Regions from separate parts of the Homo sapiens genome. Here region 1 is linked to region 2. Evidence: promoter capture Hi-C in human tissues and cell types (Jung and others, 2019). All regions are on one chromosome and are shown on one strand. The core of a region is centred on a gene start or on the middle of the fragment in contact, and the rest is flanking DNA. Distances in the headings are between cores, read along the strand shown. Region 1 holds the start of LOC105371813 (a long non-coding RNA gene). Region 2 holds the start of CBX1 (chromobox 1).

Evidence for each region. The method cuts DNA at HindIII sites, captures the fragments that hold promoters and counts their contacts. A contact is called where the count stands out against the background at its distance.
Region 1: a fragment that was not itself captured here is called in contact with the fragment with the promoter of CBX1 in region 2 in 2 of the 25 tissues and cell types used here (IMR-90 fibroblasts and lymphoblastoid cells).

The regions. Positions count from the first base shown.
Region 1 is chr17:48,809,056-48,814,448 of GRCh38, reverse strand. All of the region lies in intron 1 of TTLL6 (tubulin tyrosine ligase like 6), which reads left to right. It overlaps LOC105371813 (a long non-coding RNA gene), which reads right to left and starts at 2,209. Exons shown (of 4, transcript XR_001752926.1): 1 at 2,090-2,209; 2 at 1,362-1,389. The HindIII fragment of the contact is 4,960 bases long and covers 1-4,724 here.
Region 2 is chr17:48,099,246-48,104,732 of GRCh38, reverse strand. CBX1 (chromobox 1) reads left to right here and starts at 3,255. Exons shown (of 5, transcript NM_001127228.2): 1 at 3,255-3,465. RefSeq lists enhancers at 2,837-3,096, 2,923-3,522 and a silencer at 3,467-3,516. The HindIII fragment of the contact is 10,755 bases long and covers 1-5,487 here.

The DNA of each region.
Region 1 (5,393 bases), core at 995-3,494, 710 kb before region 2:
TACCCTTCCTTAATGACACAATGCTCTTTCTTGTGTCATTAAGAAAAACTGAAGATGCTATTTTGCTATTTACTGTGTTTGTTACATTGGTAGTACAGCTCTTAGTCTTTTTTTTTTTTTTTTTTTTTTTGAGACACTGTCTCCCTCTGTCACCCAGACTGGAGGGCAGTGGTGCGATCTGGGCTCACTGCAACGTCCGCCTCCCAGGTTCAAGCGATTCTCCTGCCCCAGCCTACCGAGTAGCTGGGATTACAGGCGCCTGCCACCATGCCCAGCTAATTTTTGTATTTTTAGTAGAGACGGGGTTTCACCATGTTTGCCAACTTGGTCTCCAACTCCTGACCTCAAGTAACCCACCTGCCTTGGCCTCCCAAAGTGCTGGAATTACAGGCGTGAGCCACCGCACCCAGCCTTAGTCTTTTAAAAACTCTCTAAAGCACTTAGTCCACTTTGTCTGTCCACTAACCCAGCATAATGGGAAGATAACTTGGGGACCAGGAAGCTGGGGTTTTGATGGTGCTTCTGATTTCTTGCTCTCTGGCTGGGTACAAGTCCCCTCCCCTAGCACAGACTGGCAGAGGGCAGAGAGTTCAAAACCTCCTCTAAAAAGATTCCTCCCAGCTCTAACATTCAGGAATTCCATAGAAGCTTAGAAAATATTCTAATTACACCCTTAATAGGAGCCCTGGTACAATGTGGACATTGGAGAAAAGAAGGGAAAGAGAGTGAAAATAAATACAAGTAGAAACAATACAGCTGTTACCAGGTTATGGCAAATCTGGAGAGATCCAAGCCCTTGTTGGAGATGGGAATTTAAAGCAGTTGACTTTAAGGAAAATGATGTGGGACCAACTGATTATTTTTCTCTTTTTCTTTTTCTTTTTGTTTTTGAGGCAAGGTCTAGTTCTGTCTCCCAGGCTGGAGTGCAGTTGTGTGATCTCTACTCGCTGCAACCTCAGCCTCCCGGGCTAAAGTGATCCTCCCACCTCAGCCTCCTGAGTAGCTGGGACTACAGGCACACGCCACCACACCTGGCTTATTTATTTATTTATTTATTGGTAGAGTGGGGTTTCACCATGTTGTCCAGGCTGGTGTCAAACCCCTGGCTCAAGTGCTCTGCCCACCTTGGCCTCCGAAAGTGCTGAGATTACAGGCATGAGCCATCGTGCCTGTCCCCAACTGACTCTTAAGAGACTAAAGTCACTAAGATTGCTTTTGGGAGTTAGGAGATCAGTTACTTTAGTTTATGGTCACACTATTTATGGATGGCCTGCCGAGAGGAAAAGGCAGTGAGGGGAGCATGGAGAGACAGGCTGTGGGGTCAGATGGACATGTCTTCCAACCCCAGCTGTGCCTCTTACCTTAGTCTCTCTGTCTCAGTCTTCTCATCTGTAATAGAGGAAAGAGTATCCATGATAGGTTATTATGAGGATGAGACATTATGTTTATAAATGCTTTAGTGTAATGTCTGCTACTTGGTAAGTGGGTTTTCAATAGTCTATTGTAAGTGAATGAAACAAGCATTTTAAGTGCCAGCTATATGAGAAGGACCCAAGGTTGATGTTTTAACAATGTAAATAACAAATGTTACTTACCTAATGCTCACAACAACACTTCTGTTATATAGCTAAGGAAAATGAACCTTGGAGAAGCTTAATTAGTTCATGCATTTATTCATTCTTCCAGCCCATTAATTCAAGGAGCATATGAACATCTCATTTTTAGTATCTTTTCTAGACACTGCTAGGAGCTGAGAATGCAGAGACACAGCCTCTTCCATCAGGAAGTTCACAGTCCAGGGTTACACAGCTGGTAATGGTAGAGAGCACTTTGTGGGTACCTTCTATGTGCCAGGCACTGTTCTAAGAACTTTGTGTTGCATTAAGTCAAATGAGTAAACTCATTTAATCTCCATAACTGGGAGAAGCCACTTTACAGATGAGGAAACTAAGGCAGGAGGTTAAATAAACTGCCTGAGTTCAGACAACTAGGAAGTGGCAGAGCTGGGATTTAAATCCAGACAGAGACTTCGAAATCTGAGTTCTTAGCTACTACACTGCAGCTGCCTCTTAATAAGTGGCTTAGTCACCTGTAGCTGACGGCAGAGGCCCTTACACCATGATGTATGTATATTTCAGGATGCCACCAGCAGCTCCCCTCACTCCTTTGTATTCTCCTTAGGCCATGTCTTTTGCCTTTCCTCCTTTTATTCCTCAAGGCTACAAGACTGCTTTTGGTGTTGGCACCAACAAAATTGTTACGCAAGACAATAGGTGGGAACTACCAGGTGAGCAGGGAGTGGTTGCTAAGACTGTTAAGAGAAGTCTTGTAGAACCAAATAAAGTCCACATCTGAAAAGTCTGAGCGGGGGGTGGGGGGGGGGGTCCCAGCATCACCTGGGTCAGATTTAATTCTTATTCTGAAAACCAGGGAATTAAAATGCTTTCTGGCTGGGCGTGGTGGCTCACGCCTGTAATCCCAACACTTTGGGAGGCCGAGGTGGGCGGATCACCTGAGTTCAGGAATTTGAAACCAGCCTGGCCAACATGGCAAAACCCCGTCTCTACTAAAAATGCAAAAATAATTAGGCCGGCATGGTGACAGGTGCCTGTAATCCCAGCTATTTGGGAGGCTGAGGCAGAAGAATAGCTGGAACCTGGGAGGTGGAGGTTGCAGTGAGCTGGGATCGTGCCATTGCACTCCAGCCTGGGTGACAGAGCAAGACTCTGTCTCAAAAAAAAAAAAAAAAAAAAGCTTTCTGCTCAGCCCTGGTGGAAGTAGCTTTTGTTTTCACTTGAAACTGCTTGGAGGCCAGAGATACTAGAGCAGAACTGGTATAAATTCAGATGTCTATAGGGTCAGGCATATAGTTTAAATGAAAGAAGTGGGCTGCGTTTAAGAAAATGTCACCTCTCTTGAGCTGGGCACAGCGGCTCATGGTTGTAATCCCAGCTACTTCCAAGGTTGAGGCAGGAGGATCTCCTGAGGCCAGGCATTTGAGACCAGCCTGGGCAACATAGCAAGACCATGTCTCTAAAAAAGAGATGTCTCAATGCTACTATAAGAAAAATAGGCTGGGCATGGTGGCTCACACTTGCTTTGAGTAATCCCAGCACTTTGAGTGGCCAAGGTGGGTGGATCACCTGAGGTCAGGAGTTTGAGACCAGCCTGACCAATATGATAAAACTCCGTTCTCTACTAAAAATACAAAACTTAGCCAGGCATGGTGACAGGCACCTGTAATCCCAGCTACTCGGGAGGCTGAGGCAACAGAATCGCTTGAACCCAGGAAGCAGAGGTTGCAGTGAGCCGAAATCATGCCACTGCACTCTAGCCTGTGTGACGAGTGAGACTCTGTCTCAAAAAAAAAAAAAAAAAAAGAAAAATAATAATATAAGGATAACTGTCACTTGGCTCCTGTGTCAGGGAAACAAAAAGGAGTGTTGGGCATTGGGGCAGACTGGGAAATGTCTACAGGAGGCATTACTGAGCTCTGGTTGATTGCTGGCATGAAGGAATAGAGACCTCTCCAAAAGAAATGGAAATCTGCATTTTCTAGTTGTTGGCAACTACATATATATACACACACATACTATATATATATATATATATATATATATATACACACACATACTATATATGTGTATATATGTACTATATATATATACACACATACTATATATGTGTATATATGTACTATATATATATACACACATACTATATATACACATAGGTTTTTTTGTTTGATTGTTTTTTGAGACAGGGTCTCACTGTTGCCCAGCTGGAGCGCAGTGGCATGATCACAGCTCACTGCAGCCTCAATCTCCTGGGCTCAGGTGATTCCCTTACCTCGGCCTCCCGAAGTGTTAGGATTATAGGTATGCGCTACTATGCCCCAGAAGTAGACATTTCTGCAAGCTAGATTCAGCATGCCTGTCCCCAGTAGGCAAACTTTGAAGGAGATGCTCTTTCAGGATCTTTGGAGAGACAGGATTCAGCCTTGGAGATTAAACAGGGAGAGAAGCTTGGGGGAAATGAAAGCAAGGAGGCCAAAGACAAAGCAAAAGTAGTCACATGGCAAGTACCATTTGCCATCTTGCACCTGTCTCGGGTACCATCCAAGATGGCTCTTATGTCATAGGCAGCCTAGAATACGAGGAAATGCAGGCAATAATTCCATGGTGAAACAGTTTATCTAAAAGTGCATGGGCTCAATTTTTTACTTTACATGCATGAGGCCCTCTCATGCAAGAGCAAACATAATTTGACCTTTTTTTTCTTTTCTTTTCCTTTTTTTTTTTTTTTTTTTGAGACAGAGTTTCGCTCTTGTTGTCCAGGCTGGAGTACAATGGCATGATCTCGGCTCACCGCAATCTCTGCCTCCCAGGTTCAAGCAATTCTCCTGCCTCAGCCTCCTGAGGAGGTGGGATTACAGGCATGCACCACCATGCCTGGCTAATTTTCTGTATTTTTAGTAGAGACGGGGTTTCTCCATGTTGGTCAGGCTGGTCTCGAACTCCCGACCTCAGTTGAGGCCTCCCAAAGTGCTGGGATTACAGGCATGAGCCACCGCGCCCGGCCTTTCTTTTCTTTTTTTGAGACAGGGTCTCTGTCATCCAGGCTGGAGTGCAGTGGTGCAGCCATGGCTCACTGCTGCCTCAAACTCTTAGGCTCAAGCAATCCTCCTACCTCAGCCTCCTGAGTAGCTGGGACTACAGGCATGCAGCACTGCACTCAGCTAATTTTTTTTTTAATAGAGATGGGGTCTCACTTTGTTGCCCAGGCGGGTTTTGAACTCCTGGGCTCAAGCAATCCTCTCACCTTGGCCTCCCAAAATGTTGGGATTACAGGCGTGAGCCACTGCACCTGGCTTACTCTTTGAGGCAGACACATAGAAGGAGCCATGACTTGTTCTTACCACTCAGGCAAGGACTCAAAAATGAGCAAAGAGAACCCGCACTTCTAGAGGTCAAACTCAGGGTCAGTTTTCTCTCCCCAAGTTAACATTAACCTTTAGGTAAACAGAGCCACTCCTCCTTGAGGGCTTGGTACATAGGAGCCGTTGCGGAGGGCTAGGGGAGTGGAGCTAGCCGTTTACCTTCAAGGAAGGAAGTAGTCCAAGGTCAAGATTTCAAGTACCTTAGTTCCCCTGAACTTTGCCAAGAATGTGCCTGTTCACTGGGAACAATTGACTCAGAAGACCCAGGTTTTATCTGTCCTGAGCACATCTCTTCCTCCCCCTGCTCTGGTGTCACCATAAAGGGTCTTGCCTATAAGTGGCAGCCCTCTTCAGAAAGAGAAAGAAACAAGTGGCAATCCTTGGCTGACGTAACAATTCTGCCATCCCTCTCATTGTAAGCATTCAATGGGAGCATGAATATGAAAATTCTTTG
Region 2 (5,487 bases), core at 2,006-4,505:
AGTGAACCGTGATTGCACTACTGCACTTCAGCCTAGGAGAGAGAGTAACATCCTGTCTCAAAAAAAAAAAAAAAAAAAAATAGGCCGGGTGTGGTGGCTCACACTTGTAACGCCAGCACTTTGGGAGGCTGCAACGGGGGGATCACAAGGTTAGGAGTTCAAGACCAGCCTGAAAACACAGTGAAAACCCGTCTCTACTAAAAATACAAAAATTAAGGCTGGGTGCGGTGGCTCACACCTGTAATCCCAGCACTTTGGTAGGCGGAGGCAGTGGGACCACTTGAGGTCAGGAGTTCAAGACCAGTCTGGCCAACATGGTGAAACCTCCCTCTACTAAAATTACAAAAATTAGCCAGGCACGGTGGCGGGCGACTGTAAACCCAACTACTCAGGAGACTGAGGCTGGATAATTGCTTGAACCCGGGAGGTGGAGGTTGCAGTGAGCCGAGATCTCACCACTGCCCTCCAGCCTGGGTGACAGAGCAAGACTCAGTCTCGGGAAACAAAAAAATTAGCTGGGCATGGTGGTGGGCACCTGTAATCCCAGCTACTCGGGAGACCAAGGCTGGATAATTGCTTGAACCTGGGAGGTGGAGGTTGCAGTGAACCGGATCATGCCACTGCACTCCAGCCTGGGTGACAGAGTTAGACTCCGTCTCAAAAAATAATAATAATAATAAATAAATAAAATAAAATAAAAAATAAACCAGAAGTGGTGGCTCACGCCTGTAATCTTAGCACTTTGGGCGGGTGGATGCCTGAACTCAGGAGTTCAAGACCAGCCTGGGCAACATGGTGAAACCCCCGTCTCTACTAAAATACAAAAAAATTAGCTGTGCATGGTGGCATGCACTTGTAATCCCAGTTACTTGGGAGGCTGAGGCAGGAGAAGTGCATGAACCCGGGAGGCGGAGGTTGCAGTGAGCCGTGATCTTGCCATTGCACTCCAGCCTGGGCGACAGTGCAAGACTCCACCTCAGGGAAAAAAAACAAAAAAAGCACTCATTAATAGTAGCTAATTATCATTACAACTAATTTTCTCATCATCATCAGTCAAAAACAGTACACTACAGGAGGAAGTGAGGAGATGCTTGCTTCTCACTTGCTTCTTCCTAGAAACCCAGCCCAAATGTTTCAGGAAGAATTGCTCTCTTTGTGTCCGGAGTTGATTCCTTCCGGTGGGTTTGTGGTCTCCCTGACTTAAACAATGAAGCCGCGGACCTTCATGGTGTTAAAAACAGCTCTTAAAGCTGGCAGGGACCCAAAGAGTGAGCAGCAGCAAGATTTGTTGTGAAGAGCGAAAGAACGCGAAAGAACAAGGCTTCCATAGCGTGGAAACCGACCTGAGCAGGTTGCTGCTGCGGGCTAACAGGAATGGGTGGGGGGCAGGGGGCCAGCTTTTACACCCTTGTTTGTCCCTGCCCATTTGCTATTTCTGTCCTATCAGAGTGCCCTTTTTTCAATCCTCCCTGTGATTGGCTACTTTTAGATTCCTGCATTTTACAGAGCGCTGATTGGTGCATTTTGCAGAGTGCTGATTGGTGCATTTTACAATCCTCTTGCTAGCTACAGAGGGCTGATTGGTGTGTTTTTACAGAGTGCTGATTGGTATATTTTACAATCCCCTTGCTAGGTATAGAGCGCTGATTGGTGCATTTCACAATCCTCTTGTAAGACAGAAAAGTTCTCCAAGTCCCCACTCGACCCAGGAAGTCCAGCTGGCTTCACCTCTCATCTTCTCTGTGCTTTCTTGAAGCCCTTTTAACTAAACTCTATTATGATATTGCTGGGCTGGGTTTTTCTTACATGACAGTTCTCCAGAGCCGTGAACAGTGCCTGCATCAGCAAAACTGTCTTATAAATGCAAACTCCTGCCCTGAACAGTGCCTGCATCAGCAAAACTGTCTTATAAATGCAAACTCTTGCCTTTTGGGGTAGAGTGCAATAGAGTTTCCCTCTTCCTCCTGATTAGAAGGATACTTTAAAATAAAAAAATAAAACTTTAGTTATATTGTGGCTTAAAAACATGTTTTTTTCCTAATTGTGTGTTTCCTTGGGATGATTGGGTGAAAGGTGCTGACGGAGATTAATGACACTGAAAAAGGTGAGCACAACTTACAATGAAAAAGAGGACATTTTTGTGGCGCAGCCAGTGAAAAGGGGGAAATTCAGGAAGCTATGAGAGGCCTATGGGGGGACCTAACCTACTCTAGGGAATCAGGGAAGACCTCAAAGGGGAAGTAATCTTAACACTGAACAGTATTTTTTTTTTTAGACGAAGTTTCGCTCTTGTTGCCCAGGCTGGAGTGCAATGGCGCGATCTCGGCTCACTGTAACCTCCACCTCCTGGGTTCAAGCGATTCTCCTCCCTCAGCCTCCCGAGTAGCTGGCACTACAGGCGCCCGCCACGACGCCCAGCTAATTTTTGTATTTTAGTAGAGATGGGGTTTCACCATGTTGGCCAGGCTGGTCTTGAAACCCTGACCTCAAGTGATCCACCCACCTCCGCCTCCCCAAGTGTTGGGATTATAGGCTTGAGCCACCGTGCCGGCGTGAGTAGGAATTTTACAGAGATTTGAGGAGGCAGAGATTGAGGACTAAGAAATCATTGGAAATTTGAGGCAGCGGCGATATGATAAAGTTCTGGTGAAGAATCTAAGATTCAAAAATTTTGAGGATGTGAATTACAGAACTGTCCAGAAGTGGTTGATTTTTTGGGGGCCAAGCATCAGGGGGCTCGCTTATAAAAATCATATGTTCTAATTTTTTTTTTTTTTTTTTTTTGAGATGGAGTCTCGCTCCATCGCCCAGGCTGGATCGCAGTGGCTGGATCTCGGCTCACTGCAAGCTCCGCCTCCCAAGTTCAAGCAATTCTTGTCTCAGCCTCCTGAGTAGCTGGGACTACAGGCACCTGCCACCACGCTCGGCTAATTTTTGCATTTTTAGTAGAGACAGGGTTTCACCTTGTTGGTAAGACTGGTCTCGAACCCCTGACCTCAGGTGATCCACCCGCCTCGGCCTCCCAAAGTGCTGGGATGACAGGCGTGAGCGACTGCCCCTGGCCCATATGTTCTAATATTCTAGGTTACAACGCTCTACGCTGCAATCTCTCCACCGTTACAGTTTAAAAACTATAAGTCCCTACCACCCTCGCCTACTGTGCGTGCGCGGCGCGCGGCGCTTCGGGCCTTGTAGTCTTGGACAGACCCCCGAGGCCCATGGTGCCGTGCGGCGGGTCGTTGCGCCTGCGCGGTGCGAGCGGCGGGCAGCGCAGACTGCGAGGCTCTTTTGTTCGGCTGAGGGGAGGGCCGTTGGCCGGGGCCTGCGGTACGCCGCTTCAGTGAGGGACGCCACTGCGGCCACCCGGCTTGCTGCCTTCCTGGGCGCCACTCCCCCAGGCGACCCGACGCGACGCGCCAGCAGCGCAGCACCGATTCCTCTCGGGCTCTTGGGCGCTGCTCTGAGGTGAGGAGCCCGCTGGAGGCGGGAGAGCTGGGGGAGGGGGCGCGGCGGCGGCGGCGGCGGGAGCCCTGCGTGAGGGAACGCGCTTTCGAGGCGGAGGTTAGGAGCGGGGAGCGCGCCCGGGTCCAGCGTCCTGCTTCTCCGCTTCCCGCGCTGAGCTCTTCGCCTGTCGCTGAGGCGTCGGTGCCAGCTGCGTGAAGGATGGAGAGGGCGGGGCGCGAATCCTGAGCCAGAGACTGAGTGCTTGGGGGTGGGCCGAGCACTTGGGGGCCGCTCTTCGGGGCCCGGGTGGTCTGGAACAATGTTGCTTGGCTGGGCGGCTGCGGGATAGGGCGGAAGGGGACAGGCTTGAGGCTTGGATAGGCGTGAGGAGGCGCATACGACCGCACAACCCGAGGTTTGTAACTGTATTCGGAAGACGCCGGGTCCGGCTGGGACTGCCAGAGGAACCTGGCTTTGCAGGACTACGGAGGAGTAACGTCGAGTGAATTGGAAGAGGGCCCAGGGCCGCACAAGGTGTGCTGATTGGAGGAGGAGATGTGTGGAATAAATTGGGAAAGGGGACACGGAGGGGGAGGGGCAGGCGTTTGCTGGGCCTGACTCTGGAAGGGGAGGAGCTGTTAGGATAAGTAGGGCGGAGATCCCGAGAATATTTCTATAAGGTATGTAAGAAAAAAGGGGAAAGCAGGCCGCCCTTGCATCCTGATGGGTCCTTACAGTGGGGAGGCTGTAAGAATAATGTGCGAAGAAAGGATGGAATACGCTTTTTTCAGTTTTCCAGGTTTCCTACTACCTTCACTCCATGATTCCTTTGGGGAGTTAAAAAAGTCCAAGTGCAGTTCTTGCTTTGATTCAAAATTAGTTCCGTACGTTTTTGTGTGGGATCGTAACTGGTCTCACAAAGGTGATGAAATTGTAAAAATATGTAGATGAGTTAATAGTTGAGGAACGGCGTGAGGTAGTGAGAGATTGTGAGATCGTGTGAGGTGCGAGAAATTGGGAGACATAGGAAAATTATGTGAGATTGTGAGGTAATATTTGTTTCGTGGGCCCTTCTGTTTTTAGCCAGCTTTTCCTTGTTGGAAAATTTGAATAGAGTGAGCTATATTTTACCTCTTTTTTTTTTTTTTTTTGAGAAGAGTCTTCCTCTGTTGCCCAGGCTGGAGTGCAGTGGTGCGATCTTGGCTCACTGCAACCTCCACCTCCCGGATTCATGCGATTCTCTTGCCTCAGCCTCCCGACTAGCTGGGATTACAGGCACACGCCACCACGCCCGGCTAATTTTTGTATTTTTAGTAGAGACGGGGTTTCACCGTACTGGTCACGCTGGTCTCGAACTCCTGACCTCGTGATCCTCCCGCGTCGGCCTCCCAAAGTGCTGGGATTATAGGCGTGAGCCACTGCGCCTGGCCATATTTTACCTCTTTTTCAAAGTTTCAAATGAGGGTTTTTCATAAATTGGTGTTACATTTAGACGTGTTGGTTTAACGCAATTGAGGTGGAATTTACAAAAAGTTCAGCTATAATCAGTTATATACTAGAACCCCTAGCCCAGGGTAAAGTAGCCTCCTCAATTGTGTTAAGAGTCACATCAGCAGTTTGGAAAGATTGTGAAAGGTCCAAGGCTTTGGAATAGATTCAGGAATACAATGGGGAAATTAATGCCGGTGTTCCTCCCTAGGTGCCTTATAGACTTTTATATGAAAGTGGTGTGATTGAAAAGCACTTGTATTGAAACCGGTGGCACCTTAATGAAGCTTCACGGGAGTGGAGGACCTGAAGTCGTTTACGGTTTTCCCTGTGGTGATATTTTTCTTCAATGGCTGCTGTATCCTAAATTGTTTCTCATTAAAAAAATAAATAGTAGGGTCGGGCGCAGTGGCTCAAGCCTGTCATCCCAGCACTTTGGGAGTCTGAGGTGGGCGGATCATGAGGTCAAGAGATCGAGACCATCCTGGCCAACCAACATGGTGAAACCCTGTCTCTACTAAAAATACAAAATTAGCTGGGCCTAGTGGCGCATGC